Linked DNA regions of Homo sapiens: region 1 is linked to region 2. The links are contacts of gene promoters, found by promoter capture Hi-C in blood cells and fetal thymus (Javierre and others, 2016). All regions are on one chromosome and are shown on one strand. Each heading gives the region's core, a stretch centred on a gene start or on the middle of the fragment in contact. The rest is flanking DNA. Distances are from core to core; before and after follow the strand shown.

Region 1 (6,975 bases), core at 1,483-3,982, 1.5 Mb after region 2:
TCCCTCCTCCTAGCAGATGATGACCTAGGACTGGCACACAGTCACGCTGCGGAAACAGGCTCCAGAGAGGTCAGGCGGCTGCCTAAGGTTTTGCAGCTGATGAGTGGTAGAGTTGATTTGGCTTCTGGGAGAACTAAATAAGTTGGTTGTTGGCCTCTGGGAAGGATTAGTGATGTAGCATACACGCTGTCGTAGTTAGGATACCCCCAGCCTTACTTCCCTTGCTGCAACCTTCCCCTGCACCCCCATGTGGCAGCTTCCCCTTGCATGGCCTAGATCTGATCTTTCTGAGATACCTGGCCTCTCTCTCTCCTCCTCACCCCCTCCTCTCTGTACCCTCTTCCTCCCCTCCACTGCCCAGTGGGCAGTTTTAAACACAACAGTGAGCTTTTCCAAAGGTCACCATTCACTGTTGCTATTTATTCTTTCCAGTTTGCTGAAAGTTTGAAATAGGTTGAGAAAGCTAACAAGCCCCTAGATTCCCAGGAGGAAGTGAGATTTCTTAGGCTATCTAGAGAGCTGTAGCCAGAAGCCACTGTTTGTAACAGGATATCAGCTAAGTACCTGTCTGGGGCTTTGCGGGGAAGGTGGAGGTGGGCAGGGCCACACCACTCACCCCACGGCACCTCCATGAGGGCAGTTTCTGGTTTGTTAAAGGCTGAGCCCCTGGAGTGGGCCGTCCCGAGCCCATGGGGAGCTTTGGGTCCAGGGGCCTGGAATTAGAAGGGCTGCCAAGGCCCCAGGGCCTGCTCTGAGCTCTGCCTGTTTTTGGTCTTCCAGTCCGCAGCCGCCACAGCCCCAGGTCCCTGAGACTCCCTGGGCAGATGAGGGCGGCTCCGTTTATCACCTGACCGATGAAGACTTTGACCAGTTTGTGAAGGAACACTCCTCTGTCCTCGTCATGTTCCACGCCCCATGTGAGTGGAACTTTGCTCCTCCCCCTCCACACCCTCCCCTCTCTCAGAGTAGGATGAGTGTGGCGCTTTGCAATGTGAACCCAGGAAGCACTTATTTTTTGGATGCCAGGACCCATGCTAAGCCAGGGGATGCAGTGGTGACAGGCGAGGTCCCCACCCTCGTAGTGCACATGGCCTACCCCCCATTGCCATGGAAACAACACAGAAGTCCTGATCAGGCTTTACTTGTCCCTTAGCTAGAGCTCAGTGAGTCTCCACCACCCCTAGCTCTGAGCATCTTCCTCCCAGTCAGCATGAATTGGAGAAATTAAGCTGGAAGCACCCTGAGATGTTACCTAGAACAGACTGGGCCTGGAAATAAAATTAGGGCTGATACCTCATATGGGGGCTCATACCTATAATCCCAGCACTTTGGGAGGTCAAGGCAGGAGGATTGTTTAAGGCCAGGAGTTCAAGACCAGCCTGGGCCACATAGCAAGACCCCATCTCTACAAACAATTAAAAATTAGCTGGGCATGTGGTGCACACTTGTAGTCCCAGCTACTCAGGAGGCTGAGGTGGGAGGATTGCTTGAGCCTGGGAGGTTGAGGCTGCAGTGAACTGTGATTGTGCCACTGCACTCCAGCCTGAGTAACCAAACAAGACCCTGTCTCATTAGCCGGGCGTGGTGGCGTGCACCTATAATCCCAGTTACTTGGGAGGCTGAGGCAGGAGAATCGCTTGAACCTGGGAGGTAGAGGTTATAGTAAGCCAAGATTGTGCCACTGCACTCCCTCCTGGGCAGCAGAGCGAGGCTCCATCTCAAAAAAAAAGACCCTGTCTCTAAAAACAATTTTTTAATTTAAAAAAAAAAGATATTATCTAGGGCAGTAGTCACCTCTTACCTTACAAGTGGTCGCGGGCTGAGGCCCCAGGAGAGCCTGTGCTTGCCCAGGAGCTGAGAGGGCATGGGGAGGCCAGGCTGGAGCTGCAGATCATCCAGCATCTAGAATGCCTTCTGTCTGCTTCACCTCATTGCATTCTCATTCTGAAATGACCACAGTGAATCAAGGAAGTAAAATCCTGTAAATGCTATCAAACGTGCTTGCGATAAGGGCTGGAAGGCCTGTGGCCCAGGAGTTTTCTGGAGCAGTGTCTTCCTACTCCCATGGAGAGTGGAAAATTGACCATAGGTGGTTTCCAAGAGGGACAAGGCTGCCCCTGGGAAGGCAGACAAGGCCGCGTGAGAGCCAGGGGATGGCAGGTGTGGGCACAGAGTGTTGTGAGTAAGAGATTGTGGAGGAAAAGCAAGAGGTCAGTGCCTCATGGAGCAGGGCTGAAATCGTGAGGTCACAGTGCATGAGGATGGTTAGTCCATAGAGGCATATTCTATCAGGAGGAAATGTTATTACTCCTCTTAATCATAGGGTCCTCATGCCAACAGTTGTGTGTCACCCTACAGTGGTAACACATTGTCTTCCTGAAGGGTCATCTTTTGTTTTACCCAGCGTGCCACAAAGTGAGTACAATTAGCCCCATTTTACAGATGAGACCGTCACACAGAGAAATGACATAGACCACCCACGGCTCCGTGAGTCCTGAGCTGCTTCAGGCCTCAAGAGCCTTAGGTTCCAGGAAGAACAGGGTCAGAGCCTGAGCCCCAGTCTCCTGGCCGCCTCCCCTTCCCCCACAGTATCCATGAGTTTGGCTAGCCTGGGAATTGCTCATAAACATACTCTTACCATGGATTTTCCTAACTCATTATTTCTTACAAGTGCTAAATTCTTAGGAGACTCTAAAGGAATAGCTCTAAAGGACTCTAAAGGAATAGCTCTAAAGGAATAGTTTCCTATAGCTCTTCTGAGTTCCTAGAAAAGAGACCAAAACAAGCCCCCAAAACTAAGTTTCAAAAACCCTCTAGTCTTGTGGGCCTCTCCTGATGAAGCGCAATGAAGGGCGTCTGCCTCAGGTCTGCTAGGGCCTTGGTGAGGGCATCCCCGAGGGTAAAGGTACTCAAAAAAGTGCCCGCCATGAGGCCAGCCAGGTAGCACTGCAGTGCTCTTCCTAGCTATAAAATACACTCCCTGGCCAGCCTCAGAGCTGCTGCTGGAAGCGAGTCTTGCAGGAATTGATGTTGAATCTAGAGCCGAAATCACCATCCTTGCACCCCTGTCCCAGCCGTGACAGCAGATACTGGCTGGCTGTTTCCAGTTCCTCCTTGGGAACCTCCAGGGTCTTCATCCCCATGTGTCTGTCCTTCCAGTTAGGGTTGGGAGAGGTCACCAGTCCCCTGGGCATTCATGGTTGTGCGCATGTGGGTTTATTTCTGCTGGGCTGGCAGAGTGAGAGGGATCAGGGCAAAAGCATGTGGTTAGCTTCCTGATATACTGCCCGTCAATGTTCCTGTCGGATGGTAATAGCTCTGGATTAATTCCCTTTCTACACACTTCTTCATTAAGAGCATGGTCTTTAGCCTAGGGAGGGATGGAATGTACATGCTTTAGGGAGTTTGGAGCTCAGGACAGGTGAACTGAGAGCAGAGAGCTCATAGCTGCCTGGCTTTGTATCTCATGCCAGAGTGCTTCTGAGAATCCCCAGTGATCAAGAAACCACTTTTGCAGTGTTTGAGGGACCTGGAGTAAAGGACAAATGTCAAGAGGCCAGAGACCAGCAGTGTCATCCTGCGTTTCCTAAGTGCAGAAAGGGTGAATTCTGGAAATCACAGTGTTCCAGGTGTCAGTCCCAGGCCAAATACGGAGTGATTTGGAGACAGACCATTTTAGAGACTCACAGAAACAAATTGGGATCCATCAACATAGCAGACCACAGCTTCTACTCCAGATCGCTGAATGCGCCGCTTGGTTTGTTTCTTGGGATAGGATTGCTGAGCTTGATGAATTAGCGTGTCTTTCTTTTATCAAGACATTTGACAAAATGAGTTGCTGTTTTCCTCACTGTGATGGGGAGAATCAGACAGGATGGAGCTACCCTGAGGGGAAGCATCCCCTGGATACATTGTGACTGTGAATCTGGCCTGAGTCTGTCTAGAGGGTATGTACTTGTTTTTAATCAGCAACTTTGTTAATGCTATAAAAAGGCATACTTTCACATTTGGCAGGGTTAGCCTTGGGAAAAGGCTGACCAGCTGAAATGTCAGACCATGCATTGACATTTTGAAGTACCCCAACAAACCGAAATAGTGGGGCTCAAACTAAAAAGCTGATTTATTTTTTATGACTCTATGCTAATTATAAAAGTAATACATGTACATTTTATCAAGGGATAATATAGGAAAGTATAGAGAAGAAAATTAAAATGCTTCCTGATACTGATTCCCAGAGAAAACCTGGTCTTTCTTTGCAGTGTTGTTTGTTTTCTTTTCTTTTCTTTTCCTTTTCTTTTCTTTTCCTTTTCTTTTCTTTTCCTTTTCTTTTCTTTCTTTTTTTGACATAGAGTTTTGCTCTGTCACTCAGGCTGGAGTGCAGTGGCACAAACACAGCTCACTGCAGCCTCGACCTCCTGGACCCAAGTGATCCTCCCACCTCAGCCTCCTGTGTAGTTGGGACTACAGGTGCACACCGCCACACCTGGCTAATTTTTAAATTTTTTGTAAAGACGGGGTCTCACTTTGTTGCCCAGGCTGGTCTGCTTTGTTGCTTCTATGCCTGTAGTAAGTACCCAGTCAATGTTAGTTTCTTTCCCGGTCCTGCTTAGAAAGGCCAGGAAGGGAAAGGGTCTTCAGCTTTCCTCTGACCTGTGCCACCCCAGGGGGGTGCTCTCTGGCACCTGTGGGTTCCAGAGGCAAGGCACTTGCTTCTCTGCCTGGAACTGATGGGATGCTTGTGAGGCTGCCCTGCTGGGCTCTCAGCAGGAAAGGCACACGGCACCCCTCCCCGTTCTGTGTTACCCATCACCGTAAGTGATGACTGACCTGGAGACACCATGGGCCCTGCTCCTTTACCCTCTTCCCAGCACTCCTGCCACTCACTTCCCACCTCATCTGCCCCCATCTCCCCATTGTCTTTCTTCCCTCTCTCTCCCAGCAAGAGCCCATTAGAAACCCTCCACAGATACTTCAGTGGCCTCTCCAACTGATGCCTAAGTTGTCACTAAATAAATGAGCCCAGGGCAGCCACGGTGCTAGGCCCTTCATATGGGCGATCTCTATTCTGCCACAGGCCACACTGAGATTTACAGCCAGGTTTGCCCCACAGCCCTGTCCCCCAGGAGCTGGGCCGGGCCTCCTGGGCAGGACAGGCCGAGTGTGAGCAGAGGGCTCTGAGAGGGGTGTGTCTGTGGTGCTGCCTGGACCCAAGGCCAGGAGCCGCCTCTCTTGCTAGCACTTGGCTTCCCGTTTGTAGCAAGGCTTCGTGCCTGACCTCCCTCTGGTCCTCACAGTGGGGCCTCACATGCAGCCCCAGGCCCGGTTTTCCCACCCTGCAGGCGACGGAGATGCTCTCTGCAAATGGTGTGTCAGGAGGACAGTGGCTGCTGCCACCCGTGGCACCTTTTTGTTTGTGTTTTTCTGCGGCGTTCCATATGAGAGAAGTCAGAGTGTGTGTGGCCACTCATCTCCTCTTGTCACTGTTTTTTGTCCCTCTCTAGTAACTTCAGGTCTGCATTAGCAGGGGAAGGACAAGCTGCTGTGGCACTACCTGAGTAGACATCATTTATATGGGGATGTTCAGGGGAGCAAGGGGGGCATCCCAGAGAGGGGTGTTCCTGAGCAGCTCGTCTCTCCTAGGCCTGTGGACACCCATGCAGGTTCTGGGGATCCTGAGGACCCCCTGCTCTTCCTCTCCCCTGTGCTACAGGGCTTCTTGGGGGCCACGTGGCTCTACCCTTGCCTACCCCCTGACTCATCGACCCATTTTCCTTAGCAACAGGTCTGAGATGGGATGTTTTCTTTGCCATATCTTGCCTCCAGCATGTATCTGCACTGCCTTCCAGGAGCCGGGCTGTTTCTGGCAGCAGGTCCCCATCAGACTCAAGATTTTCTGCTGTCATCTTTTTTTTTAAGCTTTTAACTGTATTTTTGTCTTATTCTCAAAGCAATATATAACCTTTGTAGAAAATCTAGAAGGTATAGTAAAATATAGGTGATTAAGGAAAGAAACTACCTATAATCCCCATTATCCAGAGGTAACAACTTTTTTTTTTTTTTTTTTTTTTTACTTTTTGGCATCATTCTTGCTAGTCTTTTTCATTTTTTTGGTCTTATTTTTAACTTTTATTTTTTAAAAGAGGATACCATAAAATCGACCTTTTTTTTTTTTTTAATCACATGTATAGATTTGTGTAACTATCATGCCACGAAGGGCCTTCATGCTGTCATTTTATTTTATTCATTTATTTATTTCTGTTTTTTTTCTTTTCTTTTTTTAGAGACAGGGTCTCACTATGTTGCTCAGGCTGGCCTCAAACTCCTGGGCTTAAATGATCCTTCCACTTCAGCCTCCTGAGTAGCTGGGACTACAGGCACGGGCCACCACACCTGGCTAATTTTTTGGATTTCTTTTTGTAGAAATGGAGTCTCCCTATGTTGCTCAGGCTGGTCTTGAACTCCTGGGCTCAAGTGATTCTCCTGCCTCGGCCTCCCAAGCAGCTGGGATTATAGGCATGAGCCACTGCACTTGGCCACTTGTATTTTCTAATTGCACAAATAATTTAAGAATAATATTAACAGCATTCTTGTTATCAGCAGTGCAAGGTTCAAGGGATACATAAGAATATAGTGCAGACAGTGAAAATCCCTCACTCTCCACGCCGTGCCCCTTCTCAGGGCTGGTCACCACTCACAGTAGAGGATGGATCCTTCCTTCTCCTTCCGCAGTGCTTCTACCTAAACAACAGGGGGTTGGTTGGCTGGGCATGGTGGCTCACGCCTGTAATCCCAGCACTTTGGGAGGCCAAGGCGGGTGGATCATGAGGTCAGAAGTTCGAGACCAGCCTGGCCAAGATGGTGAAACTCTGTCTCTACTAAAAATACAAAAATTAGCAGAGCATGGTGGTGCACGCCTGTAGTCCCAGCTACTTGGGAGGCTGAGGCAAGAGAATTGCTTGAACCCGGGAGGCAGAG
Region 2 (7,687 bases), core at 2,014-4,513:
TTATTAGAAAGAAATACTATGAACAATTGAATGCCAACAAATTAGATAAATGAAATGGACAAATTCCTAGGAAGACACAGAATACCAAATCTGACTCCACAAGAAATAGATGTTGTGAATAGAGCTTGCTATGGTATGAATGTGTCCCCCACAGCTCATGCGTTGGAAACTTAATCCCCAAAGCAACAGCTTTGAGAGGTGAGACCTTTAAGGGTTACTAGGCAGAGCCCCCATGAATGGATTAATGCCATTATTGTGGGAGTGGGTTAGTTATCTCAGAAGTGGGTTCCTGATAAAAGGATGAGTTCGGCCTTCTTCTTCCCCAAAATCTTTATCCCCACCCCCACCTCTATCTTTCTCTCTCTCTCTTACCTCCTCCTCTCCCTTCCTTCTGCCATGGGAGGATGAAACATGAAGGCCCTGGCCAGGTGTGGCCCCTCCATCTTCCGTCTGAGACTGGAAGACTTCCCAGCCTTCAGAACTGTAAGAAATAAATCTCTCTTCATAAATTACCCAGTCTCAGGTATTCTGTTATAACAACACAAAAACAGACTGAGACAGAGTTATAACAAGCACAGAGATTGAGTTAACAATTGAAAACTTCCCACAAAGAAAAGCCCAGTCCCAGATGGCTTCACTGCTAAATTCTACCAAAATGTTTAAAGAAGAATTAACACCAATCCTTCATAAACTTTTCCAAAAAAAACAAAAGAGGAGGGAACTCATTTTATGAGATCGATATTATCTGGATACCAAAGCTGAACAAAGACGCCATAAGGGAACTACAGATTATAGTGAGTATCCCCTATTGGAAATGCTTGGAACCAGAAGCGTTTCAGATTTGGAGTTTTTGGAATATTTGCACATACATAATGAGATATCTTGGGGATGGGACACCAGCCTAAACACAACTCATTTATGTTTCATATACACCTTATATACATAGCCTGAAGGTAATTGCACAATATTTTAAGTAACTCTGTGGATGAAACAAAGTTTCGAGTGCGTTTTGACTATGACCCACCATATGAGGCCAAGTGTGGAACTTTCCTCTTGTGGTGTCACATCAGCACTCAAATAATTTTGGATTTTAAAGCATTTTGGAATTCAGATTTCAGATTGGGGATACTCAACCTGTAATACCTCTTCTGAATATAGACGCAAAAATCCTCAATAAGATCCTTTTGTAGTTCATGAATGTGATGATTGGGCATTCACGTGGATGTGTGAGTGCTACCCTCGAAGCTTGTTTCAACATTGGCACATTATGCATCTGACTTGAAAAAACAAATTCTCAATAAAATACTAACAAACTAAATTTAGCAACATATAAAAAGGATAGATACCATGACCAAGTAGGGTTTATTCAGGAATGGAAGATTGATTCAACATAAAAAAATTCATCAATGTAATACACGATATTAATAGAATAAAGGACAAAAACCACATGATCATCTTGCTGGGCACAGAAAAAGCATTTGATGAAGATCCACACTCTTTCTTGATTCACTCAACAAACTAGAACAAACTATCAAACTCCTCTCCTTCAACTTGATAAAGGCCATCTACAAAAATCCACAGGTAACATTGTACTTATTGGTGGAAGACTGAATGCTTCCCCCCTAAGATCAGGAACAAGTGAAGTGTGGCCACTCTCACCACTCTTGTTAAACATAGTGCTGGAAGTTCTAGGCAGGGAAAAACAGCAAGAAAAGGAAGTTAAAGGCATCCAAATCGCAAAGAAAGAAGTTAAAATATTTTTGTTAACAGATGGCATGGTCTTGAAAATCCTAAGGAATCCACAAGAAAACTATTAGAACTAATAAACCAGTTCAGCAAAGTTTCAAGATACAAGATCAGTGTAGAAATTTTTTACAATTTTCAACTGCTATTTGCTCATTCCAAATAAGTTTACCTCCAAGGACATATATGTATGAAGAATCCAGGGGAAAGGTTAATTCGATGGCTGTTAATCACAGCCAAATTTAGCACATCTGCTGTTAGTCAAAATACATTCAAATACATTCAAATAACAGCTGGCATTGTGGAGCACTTGGCATGTGGTACATATCATTCATGTGCCTTATGTGTACTGACACAGTTACCTGTGGTCGCACCAAGTATCATCGCCATTTCACAATGGGGAAAACTGAAATAGAAAATGGTTAAGTAAATTTGTCAAAATCACATACCTAATCCCAGCACTTTGGGAGGCTGAGGTGGGAGGATCATGAGGTCAGGATTTCGAGACCAGCGTGACAAACATGGTGAAACCCCGTCTCTGCTAAAAATACAAAAATTAGCCAGGTATGGTGGTACGTGCCTGTAATCCCAGATACTCAGGAGGCTGAGGCAGGAGAATCACTTGAAGCCAGGAGGTGGAGGTTGCAGTGAGCCGAGATCACGCCACTGCACTCTATCCTGGGCAACAGAGCGAGACTCTGTCTCAAAAAAAAAAAAAAGAAAAAGAAAACACCAAAGCCGGGATTCTATATTTTTTTCACTCACAAGATCCTGAATGAGTTTATCTGAAGATGATAAGATAAAGAACGCTAGACTGAGAGTTAAACAAGCTCTCTGGGGCTTTCCTCTGGCTCTTCCACTAACGAGATGTGTGACCTTGGATGAGCAATTTCCCTTTTCTGAATCTCTGTCTCCTCATCTGTAAAAAGAGGGAGCTGGACTAAATGACAGCTAAAGCCTCCTACAACCTCTAATTCTCTCACACTGGATTTACTCTACACCTGGTATCTGAATTACAAACTCTCCCTTTTCCAGGAAAGATGAAAGGACCAGGGGAGGACAGACACTTACTTGTCACGACAAGAGATAGGAGAAACTGAAGCAGGACACCATGTCATTTGCACAAGTTGCTGCTTCAGCCAGTGATGGGTTTAGGTGAGGAGCATGGTTATAATTAGAGCAGCAGCCAGTCCTGAAGGCTGTGCCAGCCTCCTTCAGCACAGCTGGGCCTGCCGACTGCACATGCAGGAATCTGAGAGGCTGTTCTGGCCTTGAAAATGATCCTTCTTAAAAGGATTTTCCTCCTTCCTCAAGGGAAAGAAAACCTATTGATATAAAACTTCACTTCCCATTCAGTTTCCCCTGCTAAATGCCACTCCAGTAGAGACTGAGTGTTGATAAATACAGGGGAAGGAAAAAGTCGTAAGCTGAGCCTGGTCACATTGCCCCTTGTGATATCGTTTTATTTTTAACTTCGCAACACTTGGACTATTTCTGTTGAAGTTTTCTCTCCTTTCCCTGCCTTCCCAACAGAACGCTGTCCTCTACTGCAGCTGATGCAACCCAGCCACCTCCCGGCAATCCGCTTACTTGCAATCAAGGGTTCAGGTGCAAGCAGATGCTGACTCAGCCTGTTCCATTAAGGTAAGTATTCAAACAGGAGCAGGTGCACCATGACGAGGACATTCAGTGGTGAATATGCAGATGAAGCTGAGCCGCATATCACTTTTGTGTCCTGTGGAAGAGGATTGTTAAGCAAATTAGTTATGTAAAGATGTGGGGGAAAGGCTGGCACTGAGAATGAGATCCAGCCGTGTGTAAATTTCTGTTTCCATTTCAAGAGCAGGTAGAGTACTTGCTTTCTGACAGCTTAGGTTCTTTCTTCTATAATCAACAAGAGTAGTTATGATATCTGTAAAGTTACAACATGGTGATGGGTGGGGGGATCTGGGGAAGTGGAGGAGGTGGTGAGGAAACAAGTGGAAGGCCTAGAATCCAGGATTTCTATTCCCTTTTCTTTCTTTTTTGAGACAGTCTTGCTCTGTCACCCAGGCTGGAGTGCAGTGGCACCATCTTGGCTCACTGCAGCCCCTACCTCCCAGGTTCTAGTGATTCTCCTGCCTCAGCCTTCCGAGTAGCTGAGACTACAGGCACATGCCACCACATCCGGCCAATTTTTGTATTTTTTTAGTAGAGACAGAGTTTCACCTTGATGGCTAGGCTGGTCTTGAACTCCTGGCCTCAAATGATCCGCCCACCTCAGCCTCCAAAAGCGCTGGGATTACAGGTCTGAGCCACTGTGCCTGGCCCAGAATTTCTATTATTTATTTATTTATTTAATTCATTGTTATTATTTTTTTGAGACAGAGTCTCACTCTGTTGCCCAGGCTGGAGTGCAGTGGTGCAGTCTCAGCTCACTGCAACCTCCACCTTCTAGGTTCAAGAGAGCCTCCTGCTTCAGCCTCCTGAGTAGCTGGGACTACAGGCCTGTGCCACCACGCCTGGCTAATTTTTGTATTTTTAGTAGAGATGGGGTTTCACCATGTTGGCCAGGCTGGTCTTGAACTCCTGGCCTCAAGTGATCCACCCGCTTCGGCCTCCCAAAGTGCTGAGAATACAAGCATGAGCCGCTGTGCCTGATCAGAATTTCTGTTTTCTAAAGTCTAAATGCTGTGATCTTTTCTCCAGTCAACATTTGCTATGTTTGCTTGCAAGTCATTCTCATGTAGCTTAAAATTTCGTCTGCTGTGTCATACTACTGGTTAATAAGCACAACTGTATTTTCTGTATATACTATTCAAACTCCGCAGAGTTTAACACCTTTTTTTCGCCAACAATATTCTCTAAGTGTGGCCCTCTTCTCCCCAGCTCTCTTGAGTCCAAAATGCATCCATGAAATATAAGTGAAATATTTCTCAAGTTGAAAAACTTATATAGGCTTATGCACCAAAACCAAAGATTGTTACAAGCTTGAACAATTTTGCATATTCAGAGGGATAAAAGTAAAATGACTAATGATACTTGAGGTATCAAAAGTTATAACTTTAGACAGATAGTTTCTCGCTTCTGGAATAACTGTATAGTGTTGCATGCACTAAAAATTGGCAAGGTAAGGGAGCAGTGTTTATTTTCTTGTTTTTCACTGGTTCAAAGTTCAGCTAAGGACATCCTGGGAAGTGGCCTATGCAGCAAAAGGGATTCTGTACACTCTGACCTTTGATGTGTACAGGCTAAAGCCACCGATGCCAAGTAAAAGGAGACCTAAACTAACTATTCAGATACCTTAACTCCTGGTTCCTTCCTGCCTGTCTCTGTAACCTCCATATGTACCCCAAGACTCTGCTATAGGTGTCTGGGTTATCATTATGCCTGTTTCCTGGGCACAAGCAAATTCACTGTGTATAATCACCTAACTTCATTTAATTTTTCCAGGGCCTCCACAGCACCAAGGTCTCCAAGGTGTATGCTGGGATGCTGTCCTGGTGAAACTAGGGTGTGTTGGCTTACAAGTAACCAAGCAGACAGATTGAGTCCCAGCTACCCCTAGATAATCCAGTTACTTTAGCACTATCTTGGCCAATGCAACTGTAATTTAATAGAATAGTACTGATACAAAAGCACCAGATATAAGAATTAACTAGCTAATTCAATAACTAATAAGTATAAAGTTAGAGAGATTTCTAGTATAGGTGGAAAACTTCAGATTGTGAAGTGGAATGGATCTGGGAGAGGGTGGTTCTGTTTTAGGATACAGTGAAGGTACTGGAATCGCAGCGTCGAAGCCAAGGATTATGGAACCCAATGTGGGAATTAGCCTCAGCAAAGTGATTGTGTTAAAATCTCAAGAAGGCAAAGAGATTACTTTAATAATTATCTTTATACATTTTCTTTCCCTACAATTAAATATTTCCATAGCAGGGAAACAGGTCAACAATGCATAATTAAAGTAACTAATTAATTGGCTGGTTAACAGGTTAAGAGTTAAAAAATCTTTGACCTTTAACTTTTAACCTTGTCACTTTCACTGAAGTTAAAGCTCAGAAATAAATCATTATTGCCAGCGCCAGCCACATGAGGAGGCAGAATAGTTTAGTTACTGACATCATGTGAGGGGTGCTGAGAGGGCCCCTTGCCTAAAAATATCTCCCTGACATCAACCCTGTTTGCCTACTAACTTTAAAATTATAGAAAAGAATGTTAAAACTATTGTTTGTTAATCCCATTCTCTTTTGCTTGAGTCAGTGATTTAAATACACCTGCTATACGTGTTAGCATGACTTTGTTGACCAGCAACACTTGGTCACCACCTCCTCCTCCTTCTTCCACGCTTTGTCCTACTCTGCCCTTGGTACCATCTAAGCTGCCAACATGCCTTGGCTGTCACCACTCAGGTAGCTTTGTGTGGTGCTGTGATTTCTACAGACTCTTTCAATAAAACATCAAAGCACAATAGAAAAAAAGCACGTGACTAGAGCCAGAGACTCTGGGAGCATAGGCAAGACATTTCACTTCTCAGAGCCTCAGTTTCTCCTCTAGGAAACAAGGAGGTTAAAACAGACCCTTTCCTTTCAAAATGAGGTCCTTAGACCATCAGCTTCATCTGGATTTTGTTACAAGGAAAGAGTCTCAGGCCTCACCCTGGTCCCACTGGATCAGAATCTGCATTTTAAAAAGTTTGCCCGGGTGATTCCTTTGCATGTTGAAGTTTGAGAAGCTATGGAATATGGATTTCTTAATATCTGCCTGATCCAGATTTCGGATTCTGTGCCTGTCAAGTGTTTAAAAGAACAAGTACTTTAATCCCCTGCAAACAATCTGGCAGTGCTCAGATTATCTATTATAAATCCAGCCCACTGAGGTCTTTTCTTCAATGAGGCCTACATTAACCTAAGTTGAAATGATTTCCTTTTCACCTTAAAAAAAAAAGCAGCCCCAATTAGCATACATCTGACACCACTCTACTTTCTTCCTAAATTTGTTTCAAATTACTCTCGCAGCTTTTAAAATGCTGCCTTTTTAAGGGTTCAGTTTAATTCAGTTCAATCCTATTCAATGTTCTCGTTGACTGAGTGCTGGGGGCAGTGTTTGCTCTACTCACTCTCAGTCCCTAGAAGCCCATTTGGTGGGTCCTTAAGAAGTATTATCACCCTCTGTTGATATTCCGGTCAGACCTCCTTCCACTGCCTGCACACACCTCGCTGGCGACAACACTTGTGCCCATCATTGGAACCTCTCTCACCATTCTCACCATCACAGCAACTTTGCCAGGTTCTGCCAACTGCCACAGCCAATCACAAGAGAGAAGGCAAGTCTCAAGGACCACACTTTCCTTTTTTCTTGATGAGCAGAATAATGCAGATGAGCAAAAAAATTTACAAATTTTGGCCTAGGAAACAAAGATGCCTTCAAGTTGTCTTTATGGCATCTACAAAGTTTCAGTCCTAAAGCAGTACTATTTGAATTCCTAAGTGCTTAAGGAATGGCTCGTGGTGATTAAAGGGGGCCGAAAGTGGGGGGAAGTGTGGAGGCTTACATTCTTAAAAGAGTGAGGAAATAATTTTTAAAAAATAGAATTTGAATATCATCAAACTGACAGTGGAATATAAGATACATTGGAGTGAGGGGGACTGAAAATGGAAAGACCAGACATGGCTACAGGAGGGCAGTGGGAACACATGAAGGCCTGGAGGAGGGAGGTGACCATGAGAATGACCTTCCTCATAGAGTGACTCATCTATTACACACTCCCTATTTCATCTCATTGGATCCTTGTGCAACCCTATTGGTTATTATAGGCCCCCTTTTTTTTTTTTTTTTTTTTGAGACAGAATTTCACTCTGTTGCCCAGGCTGGAGTGCAGTGGCATGATCTTGGCTCACCACAACCTCTGCCTCCCAGGTTCAAGTGGTTCTTGAGCCTCAGTCTCCCGAGCGTCTGGGATTAC

What was found. Contacts are between HindIII fragments. The CHiCAGO score rates a contact against its expected background, and 5 or more counts as called.
Region 1: a contact is called between a fragment that was not itself captured here and the fragment with the promoter of FBXO40 in region 2, in 1 of 17 cell types (naive B cells). The highest score is 5.7, in naive B cells.

Annotation. Positions count from the first base shown.
Region 1 is chr3:123,129,700-123,136,674 of GRCh38, forward strand. PDIA5 (protein disulfide isomerase family A member 5) reads left to right here. Exons shown (of 17, transcript NM_006810.4): 11 at 781-917. Among named protein-coding and RNA genes, the nearest start is that of MIR7110, 29 kb to the right of the region's middle. The HindIII fragment of the contact is 6,364 bases long and covers 1-5,914 here.
Region 2 is chr3:121,590,116-121,597,802 of GRCh38, forward strand. It overlaps FBXO40 (F-box protein 40), which reads left to right and starts at 3,264. Exons shown (of 4, transcript NM_016298.4): 1 at 3,264-3,387. It overlaps ARGFX (arginine-fifty homeobox), which reads left to right. Exons shown (of 5, transcript NM_001012659.2): 5 at 1-507. LOC124906360 (small nucleolar RNA U13) reads left to right here and starts at 1,179; the gene lies at 1,179-1,279. RefSeq lists enhancers at 2,621-3,820, 2,634-3,284, 3,285-3,936 and silencers at 3,207-3,501, 7,374-7,574. The HindIII fragment of the contact is 3,467 bases long and covers 1,244-4,710 here.